3 separate regions of the Homo sapiens genome follow, and regions 1 and 3 are each linked to region 2. The links are contacts of gene promoters, found by promoter capture Hi-C in blood cells and fetal thymus (Javierre and others, 2016). All regions are on one chromosome and are shown on one strand. Each heading gives the region's core, a stretch centred on a gene start or on the middle of the fragment in contact. The rest is flanking DNA. Distances are from core to core; before and after follow the strand shown. Region 1 overlaps SNX10-AS1 (SNX10 antisense RNA 1). Region 2 holds the start of HOXA1 (homeobox A1). Region 3 overlaps NFE2L3 (NFE2 like bZIP transcription factor 3).

What was found. The method cuts DNA at HindIII sites, captures the fragments that hold promoters and counts their contacts. A CHiCAGO score of 5 or more calls a contact.
Region 1: a contact is called between a fragment that was not itself captured here and the fragment with the promoter of HOXA1 in region 2, in 1 of 17 cell types (M1 macrophages). The highest score is 5.1, in M1 macrophages.
Region 3: a contact is called between a fragment that was not itself captured here and the fragment with the promoter of HOXA1 in region 2, in 1 of 17 cell types (endothelial precursors). The highest score is 6.6, in endothelial precursors.

Annotation. Positions count from the first base shown.
Region 1 is chr7:26,394,305-26,398,288 of GRCh38, forward strand. The region is part of intron 1 of SNX10-AS1 (SNX10 antisense RNA 1); the gene reads right to left. Among named protein-coding and RNA genes, the nearest start is that of LINC02981, 2.3 kb to the right of the region's middle. RefSeq lists enhancers at 3,401-3,984, 3,432-3,671. The HindIII fragment of the contact is 246 bases long and covers 1,879-2,124 here.
Region 2 is chr7:27,093,518-27,097,392 of GRCh38, forward strand. It overlaps HOXA1 (homeobox A1), which reads right to left and starts at 2,483. Exons shown (of 2, transcript NM_005522.5): 1 at 1,744-2,483; 2 at 1-1,278. The coding sequence starts at 2,395. The coding sequence ends at 923. HOTAIRM1 (HOXA transcript antisense RNA, myeloid-specific 1) reads left to right here and starts at 2,577. Exons shown (of 2, transcript NR_038367.1): 1 at 2,577-2,871. RefSeq lists enhancers at 570-1,070, 1,071-1,571, 2,453-2,747, 2,873-3,445 and a silencer at 2,800-2,969. The HindIII fragment of the contact is 6,567 bases long and covers 1-3,875 here.
Region 3 is chr7:26,153,122-26,157,047 of GRCh38, forward strand. All of the region lies in intron 1 of NFE2L3 (NFE2 like bZIP transcription factor 3), which reads left to right. Among named protein-coding and RNA genes, the nearest start is that of NFE2L3, 2.9 kb to the left of the region's middle. RefSeq lists enhancers at 1-625, 1-165. The HindIII fragment of the contact is 1,743 bases long and covers 974-2,716 here.

The DNA.
Region 1 (3,984 bases), core at 752-3,251, 700 kb before region 2:
TAGTAAATGACATGACTAAAAATGTCTTACTAAGGGAGTGTGGGCTGCCTTTCCTCAGCAGCGGGGACCAGAGACGTTCGAGTTAGTTACCGTGTATTGACTCCAGATAAATGACATGACTTAGCCACTACTTAAGAACTTTCTTACCTCATATATATATATATATATAATTTAAATATATATTATACATATTTAAATATATATAATATATTATAAATAATATATATTATTTATATTATATAATTTTTATATAATATAAATATATAAAATATATAAAAATATTATTTATAATATATATAAATTAAAAGAGAACTAGAAGGCCTATTTAGGATAATGAAGTGACATTACAAAACAAAGACTACATGTTACAATTTTCCTATCTGCCTTCGAGAGGGGAATGACTAATAATTTTATCTTCAAACATTTCTATGATTTACACGTTTTCAAAGAGGAATATTCTGATGGTGAATAATCCAGTTATTACATTATTTGCTAAATTAAAATAATTATTTGCTATTCTCCTGACTTAATTCTCAGATGTCTACAAACTAAAGAACTTAGGGCAAAAATGGCTTAATTCAGTCAAGAATTCATATTGTTAAAGGAAAAATCCTATGTGGGATCCATAATATGGCTAGTTATTTAGTGGGGAGAAAGCAAAGCAAAAGAGCAAATATTTTACTGCACCCTAAGAAAATATCAATTGGATTCAGCCAAGCAGTTTGCTATCGACTAAATCAATATATACCATTTTTTCAAACACTATTTTTTGGTAGAAAGAACCAATATAAGAATAATCAAAGTGTGATTGGTTTTGATCTTCAAATAAAAAGCCATCATAAGTCGCTGATACTGGCCAGGCGTGGTGGCTCACGCCTGTAATCCCAGGACTTTGGGAGGCCGAGGTGGGAGGATCACCTGAGGTTGGGTGTTTGAGACCAGCCTGGGCAACATGGTGAAACCCCGTGTCTACTAGAAATACAAAAATTAGCCAGGCGTGGTGGCATGCGCCTTTAATCCCAGCTACTTGGGAGGCCGAGGCAGGAGAATTCCTTGAACCAGGGAAGCAGAGGTTCCAGTGAGCTGAGATGGTGCCACTGCACTCCAGCTTGGCCTGGGCAACAGAGTAAGACTCCATCTCAAAAAAAAAAAAAAAAAAAGAAAGAAAAGAAAAGTTGCTGATACTTTTAGTGCCTACTCAATAGCCATCCTCCCTTATTCCTTATTCCTTGGGAGCTGCCCTGTCCAGATTCTAGAGAAAAAATAAAAAAGTTTCTAAGCCACTAAGCTTTGGGATAGTTTGGCTGCAGAAATTGATGACTGGGAAACGGACTAAAATTCAGCTTTTGTTTTGGCATTGCCTGTCCTGTCAATTCCCTGCTCTCCTGCACCGCTCCCCTTACCCTCAAAATAATTCAAGACTAAATCCTGATTAGTTATCAATTCTGATAATCTTGCCTCTCTTGCCAGTGGTAGTTTAGAGATAGTCACGTGCCCTGGTTCTGGCCAATGAGAAAAGATCTGAGGGATCTTTGGTATAATTTCTCCACTCTTAAAAAATTTGAGAACAGTCAACTTTTTTGGCTGGCCTTTGCCATGTCTTAAAGTGATGCCTGGAACTATGGCAGCCATTTTGAGACCTTGAGGAGAACTAGCTAAGGACAAGGTCAGCAAGCTGAGGATGGCAGAATTTCAGAAAGACGAGAAAAACTTGACAACATTAAACATTTTTGACCCACTAAATTAACCAAACTTAGCATCTGCTACCTTGGTACTTCCTACATGAGATACTACATTTTCTTCATTTTTAAAGCTACTACAGACAGGTTTTCTATTACTGAAATCAAAGTTATCCTAAGAAAAACAAGCAGCGTATGAAGCTTTATTTTATCACATCTGACAGAACAGCTCAGCCTTAAGTTGGGAGTAAGATTTATACAATTCTGCTGATAATATTTATTACTCATTTTAATTGTTTGCATGGTAATATTGAAGCCCCCCAACTGTTAGGAAATGTGCATTATTTTAACAATACTGGGTATCAGTAAATAAAATATGCTAAATATTGCTGAAAATAAACACTAAGTAACTCAATTTGTGTCATTATATGTGAGGAATGGGAAAAGCTTCTTGGAAGAGGTGATATTTAATCTGGACTTGGAAAGATCGGTGATATTTGAACAGTTGGACATGAAGTTCAAGGGCATTCTAGAGAATGTCATGGGAGAGGAAATGCAATAGCATGATTTGGGGATGTACTGTAGTAGACAAATAAGGCTGGAGCTGGGTTAGGTGCAGATTGTGGAGGGTCTTAAATGTCTTGCTAAGGGAGTGTGGAGTGCCTTTCCTCAGCAGTGGGGAACAGAGATATTTGAGTTAGTTACTGTGTATTGATTCCAGATAAACGAATAAAGCATATAGTATGTATATATTTTTTATAGTTTTTTTGGTATATTTTCATGAAAAGTGTGTATGATTTTAGTGAAACCATAAAAATCCATTTTCATTCCAATTTAGATTCTGTTTTAAAGTAGTTGCCAAGGAAACTAGTAAGTGACTGGTTATGCCCGATTTTCCCTAAGTTCAAAATTAGATGCAAATTCTTCAAAGAGACTACTTGAAGGCCAGTAAACATTTCAAAGGCAGTCAAGCTCAGACGCCTGGGTGTGTGGGTGCAGGAGGGTTAGAAGGGGGGTTCTGATGTTCCTGGAGGGAAGAGATGCCTTGCCTGTGTAGGCAAAGAGCTACTTTGAGGGAAAAAAGCTGAATGAGTTAGAGGTGAGTGCCCAGGAAGAGAAGCTGGAAGTGAGAGGTTCCACTGAAGTGCCTAGAAACAGACACTCTTTAATGGAGACAAGACCAAATTTCTGGAGTTTTCCTTTGTTTACATCTTTTTATCTTGTCTCGTTTCAAAAAGGAGTTAACTTTAAATATGTCCCTGAATAAACACGAGGCAGCATGACTCCATCGCAGGTAGAGATAGGACTAAAACATGATTCTCCTAAACTTTAACCCTGGAGTTAGCTCACTTAATCCTGTAAATCTCTGCAAAGACTAACTTTGTTCCCTGGCTCCTCCGTGGTTGCCAGGTGGTGGATATACATTCTACAACAGAAGAAACTGGAATCGCTAGAGGTGTCTTTTTTTAGGGCAAGGAAGCATTTCCCAGAAAACCCCAACAGATGTCCCCTGGCTTGGCCTTGGCCAGGACTGGTCACATGCTCTTTTCTAAGCCAGTGCCTGGGCAAGGGAAGGGGTTGGTCATAACGGATTTAGACTACTTAGGATTTACTTCTGGGCCAAGGAGAGGGAGGGGGTGAGGGAGGGGGTGAGGGAGGGGGTGAGGGAGGGGGTGAGGGTGGGGGCGGGGGGCTGGCCCGGCCTAAGATGGCTGGGGGTGATGCGTTCGGGGGACAAAGGAGTGCTGGACAGTTGTGTGAGCTGTAAGAAGGACCCGGAAAATACTGCAGAGTGATTGAGAGTGTAGAGGGGCCTGGGTTCTCACCTGTGCTCCCTCCCACCTTAGCTGGGTTATGCTGGGAACCTTTCAAGGCTTTGCTAAGCCTGGGTTTCCAGGAGTGCAATAAGATCGCTGTGATAAACATGTAGGTAAAGCAGTTGGCATAGTACCTTGCGTAGAATAGTCCTCAGCATATGTTTACTACTGTCGTTGTTGCTATTAATAAAAGTGACCTAGCTCCTCTCCTCGAGAAGTTCACAAGGGGCCCAAATGTGACAGGGGGAGCTATCAGAAGGCGGGAGGTGACTTCTTGCCAGGGAGCAAGCCAGGGCAAGAAGAGAGGCGCCGTGAAGCCTGCGTTCCCTCCCGCACGCGGCTTGCCTCGGTGGCCACACGGGGAGCTCAGCAAGGCCCAGGGTTCGGGAGGCGGGTCCTGCACAGCGACGCAGCCTTGTCCCGGTGGCCGCAGGCCTGGGGAGCAGGGCGCAGCACACCCGCCGCCCGCTTGCAGGCGAGACGAGAGC
Region 2 (3,875 bases), core at 1,233-3,732:
AAAATATACATTCATTGTGCCATCCATCACATTAACAATTGAGCTGAAAATACATTATATCCAGCTAAGATAACTGTGGAAGGAAGAAATTGGTTTGAATAATACTTTTAGGTTCTGAATAACCCAGCACAAATTTTAAACAGAGGGTGGCCCGAGAAGAAAGGGGTAGAGATTGGGAAAGACTTAGCACAGGAAGCCGGGTTTCTGAAGTTTGTGCTCTGCAGGGCTTCTTAACTGTAAGAACAAATCAAGGCTACCCTCTGAGGCATCTGATTGGGTTTAAATGAGGGAATTTTTTCTTTCACCTATAAAATTGTACCAGTTTAGAGAGTTTGCCCACCCTGTTTTAGTAACCTAAACATTTCTAGAAAATCTGTATAAAGATAAATCTCTTAGGACAAAGTATTTACAACCAGCAAACTCACACACATGAAAATGACTTAAATTAAGGGATGAATTAATTGTGTAAACATATAGTGCATCTCTTCTTCCTGAGCTCCTGGACTCGCCTTTCGCTATATCCTACTTTCAAGGACAAGGGAGGGGAGAGCTGTACATATAGTTAGATAAAAGATGAGAAGATTCCTTCTGGCATGTTTCTGTTGGCAAAGGGAACTATTTTCCAAAAGGTCATCTGAAAGGAACAGTAGGTTCTGTGAATTCTCCTAAAAGCAGGAGGGATGTTAAGGCCCACCAGAAAATGTATGCTGGCACCCAATCTGGATGAAGGTGTTAACCCCGCACCAAGTCTCTGGTCCAGAATTATCTGCAAATATATTATCCTGGCCAGGAGCTCCCCAGATAGGATTAGAAAGGAAGAAAGAGACTGTAAATGGAAAGAAAGATAAGCTAAGCATGTGCTTTGGGTAAGAAGTCCCAGCCCAAGGAGATGCCTGGGCTGTTGTCTGGGGCTGGAGCCGCCTCAGTGGGAGGTAGTCAGAGTGTCTGAGGTAGAAGACCCCGGGGAAGGAACGCAGGGCGAAGAGCTGGACTTCTCTGAGGATTCCTCGGCCTTCTCGTCGTTTCCTGGCGGGGTGGCCGGAGAGATGGGCAAGAGACCCTCCTTCTCACGTTTCTTTTGCTTCATTCGGCGGTTCTGGAACCAGATCTTCACTTGGGTCTCGTTGAGCTGCAGGGATGCAGCGATCTCCACCCTGCGGGCGCGCGTCAGGTACTTGTTGAAGTGGAACTCCTTCTCCAGTTCCGTGAGCTGCTTGGTAGTGAAGTTGGTGCGCACCGCGTTGGGTTGACCCAGGTAGCCGTACTCTCCAACTTTCCCTGGGGCAAAGTGGGAAGCCATGAGACGGAAATGTAAAAATTTTTAAATCGACTTGAGATTCCCCACACGCTTCATGGCAACACTCAGGTAAAGAAAAGATCAAGAACTCAGCACAAATCGGGCTGTGGAGGGTGAGTGATGAGGTGTAAAGTGTTAACCTGATGTAAACCATTAGCATGGTCAGACCGGTGATTAATGGAGCCTCAAGATATTAACAGAACACTACCGTCACAATAACCACCCCCACATACTTCCTATTTCCCAAATGTATAAAATCCTTGAAAACACACCAATCCCTGAGACTTCTTTGCCCCAACACCTCTGGGCACCCTCTCCATGCACTACAACACTAGTCTGATACAAAAGCCTTTTAAAAAAAAGATCATTATTAATTTCCTTGGAAATTAAGCATACCAGCTCCTTCCAGAATAATCAAGGAGCATCCACCAACCAGCAGGACTGACCTGTTTTGGGAGGGTTTCTTTTGACTTTCATCCAGTCAAAAGTCTGCGCTGGAGAAGATGTCTCCGATGCGGGGGAGCGACAGGCTTCTTGGTGGCTGGCGTGGAGAGGGGACAAGGAGTTATTATACGTAGCCAGGGCCAGGCTCTGGTGCTCCTGTCCATATGAGTGGTGAATGTATTGAGGCGAGCCCACCGCGCCCCCAGCATAACCCTGGTGGTGGTGGTGATGCTGGACCATGGGAGATGAGAGATTTCCAGAGTAAACAGCGGGAGCGCACTGGGGGTACCCACCACTTACGTCTGCTTCCTGATTTAACGCGTAGGGGCTGTAAGGCGCACTGAAGTTCTGTGAGCCATAGCTTGGACCACAACTTGAGTGGGAGTAGGACACCCCCAGGTTCCCGGAAGTCTGGTAGGTAGCCGGCTGGGGGTGGCGATGGTGGTGGTGGTGGTGGTGGTGGGGCGAACCGATCTGCACCCCCCTGCCCACTAGGAAGCGGTCGTCGCCGCCGCAACTGTTGGCGCTGACCGCGCACGACTGGAAAGTTGTAATCCTATGGTCCGAGGGGTAGGCTCGGGCTGAGCAGGTCCCCGAGTCGCCACTGCTAAGTATGGGGTATTCCAGGAAGGAGTTCATTCTTGCATTGTCCATCTGTCACTGAGTGACCTGGTCCTGCGAAGCCCGGCGTGACTGTGCCAACTTTCTCACTTCCTCCATGGGGCCGGAGAAGAAAAATGATATGAATGTACAGTGCGCAAGAGGGGGGGCGGGAGGGCGGAGGACGCTGGAGGAGGGGCACGTGACGGTGTCAGCCAATGGCTGAGCCTCCTGCAAAAGTTTGCCGGCTTCCGCAGTGATGGATCACCGTTTTAGTGGCATTTAAATCCCCGGCGCTCCGCCGTCTAGGTGACGCGCAGTCGCCCCCCCAGGCAGCCTAGGCGGCGGCAGCTGCTGCGGCGACTGCAAAGGCCGATTTGGAGTGCTGGAGCGAAGAAGAGCAAAAGCTGCGTTCTGCGCGCGCCCGACTCCGCTGCCCGCCCCGCCAGGCCTCCGGGAGGTGGGGGCTGGGAGGCGTCCCCCGCTCCCGCCCCCTCCCCACCGTTCAATGAAAGATGAACTGGCGAGAGGTGAGAAGGGAAGAGGGCTCCCGGCTCTCTCGGGGCGGGAATCAGTGGGCCAGAGCTCGCCGGGTGGCCGCAAGTACGCCGGCCCAGCCCGCAGCGCGCCCAGCCGGAAGGCGGGGAATCCGGCTGACACCGCGCCCCGGGTTCCCAGGCCACCTCCTCTGTTCTGAGGCTGGGCTGGGAGACCGTGGGGCTGTGAGGAGCGCATAGAACCGTGGTGGAGGGCGAGGCTGGGCCACCGGCTCTTCAAGCTCGGAATGGAGGGGGAAGAGCGCAGAGGGCTGGCTGGGAGGAACTCGGGTGGGCGTGAAGGAGACGAGGGCAAGAAAAGAAACTTCCCTTCTTCCAGGAGGGTCTTCGAAACCCTCTCCCCACAGCCCCTCTCGTCATTAGCATGGCAATGAGGAGTTTCTGTAATTCGACTTGGAGGGGCGGATGAGCCCTGGAAACTCAGAGCTCGCCGGAAAAGGCCGGGGGCGGCCGGGCTCTTCTTCCCCACCTTCCCTCTCTCGTCGCTCTCCGCCCCTTTCTCTTTCCCACTCAGTTTTGCACCGGGAGCCCTCCGGGATGCGGAGCTACTCGACCGCCGGATTTTTAGGGGTAGGAGGCGGGGGAGAGAGATGACGCTGGCGGACGTGGCCAGCGCGGGGGCCGGGCGGTGCGCTGCAGGCCATCTGCCGGCGCCCTGAGACCCAGGAGCCTCCGCGCTCCCGCGTGGGCCTCACAGGGCCGGTCCACAGCTCCAACATAGTAGCTGAACTCCCTTCGTTGCGTTCCTCTTTTTCTGGAGGGGAATGTTAGAAGAGAGAGAGAGCTTCCTTTTATAACCTTCCTCATTCTGCTGCACGTCTAGAGTGGGTGTGGGGGCTGGCAGGTGGGAGGGGCGGTGGACAAATGGCTGATGGTGGACGGGACACTTTACCCCAACGACACCTCCTCCCCTTTCCAACTGGCTGTGTAGTTGCTTATGAGAACCTTCAAGTCCTTCCCTAGAGAGACACATGCAA
Region 3 (3,926 bases), core at 595-3,094, 940 kb before region 2:
CCCGAGGCTTGTGTCGGATCTGAGCAGGGGCCACTCTCGCTGTGTCCTGGCACCCTTAGCCCCTGGTCTTTGCAGGTTCGCAGATGCTGCTGCTCTGATTCCGAATGAAGGGCTACTAGTGCTGTCGCTGTGGTTTTTAGGTGTTTAAGGAAGAAGTGGACGAAATCATCCGTTTGGTTATAGAGAATACCTTTCCTTGTGTGTGATGGCTGGCAAGAGTAGTTCGGGGATGGGGAGGGGAGAAGCAATGCCCACTGTCTTCGCTCAGTACCTCATGTACACTGGGGTGTCGTTCTCTGGGACCCGTGCCCGACCTGGACGATGTGAAGGAGGCCGTGACCTCTGGGAGGATGCATGTTTTTAAGAACGACTCTCCCGGCCTAACGCAAGGACCTTCGCCCTGTTTTCAGCCCAATTGCTGTTCGTTTTTGCTGCTTCCCTGGATTAAGGAGCCATGGTCAGGGTCTATTCAGAGGCCAGCCGGCAGGCGGTCCCCCTGTGACCTAACCATCCCCTGCACCTAGCAATCCTCCTTCCTGGAATTTGTGTAACCTCTTATTAGCATAACGAAAACAGGTACCTTGGCAGTCACTTAGTGACTAACAAGTTCCCTTTGGTTTATGGGTCCAAACCCTTCTCTGGCTTAACTTCTTTCTGAAACCAAGTTTACCAAGATCTGTTGCTTGAAACATCTGGTGCTCCCCATGGAACGTTTGAGTTCAGTCTAATGACACTTTAACACCAGTTTCCACAAAACCACTTTACCCAAAGTTCCTTCCAGGGGACTTTTAAAATTCTGTCTTGGCTCAAACTTTAGTGTTTGCAACTGGTAACGATCAACCAGTGGTGATCAACTAATGTTCTTCGGGTGTTGTTTTTGTGGGGCGCATTCTTATGCAAAATGGGAATTGGGGCTAAACTGGTTTGTTTGTTGCTCTTCAGAATTGCCGTTTGTGTAGGCTGTTGCCAGACAAGCTTCTCCACCCTCCTGGAGGGGTCATTGTGTGGAAGTGCTCGGTGATTCACTGTTATGCTGATCTGAGCCCTTCCTCTTCCTGGGGACCGGAACCAATGGGGTGGGGGCCAGTGAGAGTCTTGGAGGGATCCTTCTGTGTTCAGGATATACTGTGGGAGGTTCTTCCCCACTCACTCATCCAATCTGGACCCCATGGGGTCTGTCTCACCTAAATGCTCTGCCCTCTAATAAGTGAGTACTTGTGCACTACCACCATTCCTGGTTCTGTAACACAGAGTTGAAACCTAGTGCTGGATGCTGTACCAGATGGCACTCTGCCACCCACACCCGAATGCCAACCTGTGTGCAAAGTGCACAGGGACCTGGAGGGAGAAGAGAGGAAGCTGTTCAGTCCTCGGAAACTTCCCTCCCGGCATCACCTGGGAGACAAAGTGGCCTTCCCTTGGCTGTTTTTTTGTTTGTTTTGTTTTAAAGACAGGGTCTTGCTCTGTTGCCCAGGCTGGAGTGCAAAGGTGCAATGACGACTCACTGCAGCCTCAACCTCCCCGGCTCCAGCAATCCTTCCACTTCAGTCTCCCAGGTAGCTAGGAGAACTGGCGTGCACCACCATACTGGCTGATTTTTTGTAGAGACAGGTCTCGCTATGTTGCCTAGGCTGGTCTCGAACTCCTTGGCTCAAGTACCCATCCCATCTCAGCCTCCCAAAGTGCTGGGTTTACAGGCATGAGCCACCATGGGTGGCCTAGACTGGCAGGCCTGCCTTGGAGGCATTTTTTGAGCCTAGGCCAGCCAAACCACTGTGGAGGCTCTGAATCCAGCTTTCCTAGGGGAGAGAGTGAAGTTCCCCGAGAACCATTCTCCTGGCAGTGCCTTCCTGGCTGGGCTGGCATGTGTGCACCATGTTCACTGCTGGGATGACCTGGTTACATTCAATCTGGCAAAAATCAGCTGTCCAGCTCCTTACAGTTGTCACGGCCAGTTCACTTTTGTTGCCTTTTACATCAACCTTGTGTGGTGCACTGGCCAGGCACCCTTATATACAATTTGTACTTAAGAAAAATAGGGCTGAGTGCGGTGGCTCACACCTGTTATCCCAGCACTTTGGGAGGCTGAGGCAGGCAGATCACTTGAGGTCAGGAGTTCGAGACCAGACTGGGCAACATGGTGAACCCCATCTTTACTAAAAATACAAAAATTACTTGGGCGTGATTACACATGCCCGTAGTCCCAGCTACTCGGGAGGCTGAGGCACGAGAATCACTTGAATCTGGGCGGCGGAGGTTGCAGTGAGCCGAGATTGTGCCACTGAACTCCAGCCTGGGTGACAGAGTGAGACTCTGTCTCAAAAAGAAAAAAAATGAAGAAGAAGAAGAAAACTAGAAGCCTAGGTTAGGGATTTGGCTAAAGCCACATGTCAGTGCCAAAAGAGAGACCAGAGCCTGAGTCTCTTGACTCTCAGACTGGCACATTAATTAAGTACCTACACGGTACTCAAGCTCTTGGGACATCTAGGACGTCTCAGTGCATCTGGGATGGGGTGACTCAGCCTTCCACTGCCCAGGCTAATCACTCTCCAGTGCTAGATTGTGCCATTCATAATGAAGAGGTTGCAATTTGGAACCATGACTTTGGGGAGAAAATGGGCTGGAAAAACAACACTGGTCTTTGCGGTCAGCTAGACCTGGGTTTGGGAGTATCACCTGCTAGTATGCCCTCCCATAAGCTGCTTGAATCACTCCAAGCTTCAGTGTCTCATGTCAAGTGGGAGAGGAATGTGTACTCCAGGGGGAGGTGTGCTGATTAAGTGGGAAAAGCCCATGGGAAGAGCAGCATGGTGCCTGGATTGTAGCTGCGCTCTTCTGCCCTCCGTCCTTAACCCACCCTCCTTCACCTGTCCCCACTCACTGGATTCCTTTTGGCTTGTCTGCATATCTAGTTTGGTTGGTTATTGAAGAAGTGGGGTATGCTAGACCCAGACTGCCTGGTTTTGAATCCCAGCTCTACCACGTCTGTGACCTTGGACAAGTTGCTTATCCTTTCTGTGCTTCATTCTGTGTGCATTCCCATGCACAATGGGAATCAGAAGGGGCTTACCTCAGAGGGTTGATGTGAGAATTAAAAAGTTCATTCCATGTAAAGGGCTTAGAACTTGCCTGTCACTTAAGTGCTTAGTTAGTAAATGTTAGCTACTGTTAACTTCAAAGAGACGAAGTGCTTTGTCCCATAGGAACATAATTTTTAATTTTAAAAAATAGATAATTCCGGTGGCTTACATTTGAGTTGCAGGAGTTTTATAGTATAATTTTCCATAATTTATGTACATATGCAAAAATATTTTGGAGTAGGGGATTTTCCAAGTATCAAAAGGAGTACTGTTTTGGTTTCACTTCTTACTGGGGCTTATCATGATCTGAAAACTGACTCTGGAATTCCCCAGGGCTGACACGCTTCCCTTCATAACCACAGTCATTCACAACGGATGAAGCATGCATTCTTCCAAGTAACACACAGGTTAAACAAAGAAATGAACAGTTTTTGTAGAATTGAATGTGTAAACGTATGGAACAGCTGCCTACAGCCAGCTTCAGTATTTCAGAGAGCTGTTGCCACTTTGAAACTGAGAGGGCTTGTAGTCATTTTGATGTGGTTTCCTATCCTGGTACAGAGACCCTCTGCTGGGTGAGGGGTCTGGTAAGACCTCTTGATTAACTGCCTGAAGAAACTGTTGGGCTGGGCCGGGTGTGGTGGCTCACACCTGTAATCCCAACACTTTGGGAGGCCGAGGCAGGAGGATTACGAGATCAAGACATCGAGACCATCCTAGCCAACACGGTGAAACCCCGTCTCTACTAAAAATACTAAAAATTAGCCGGGCACGGTGGCACGTGCCTGTAGTCCCAGCTACTCGGGAGCCTGAGGCAAGAGACTCGCTTGAACCTGGGAGGCGGAG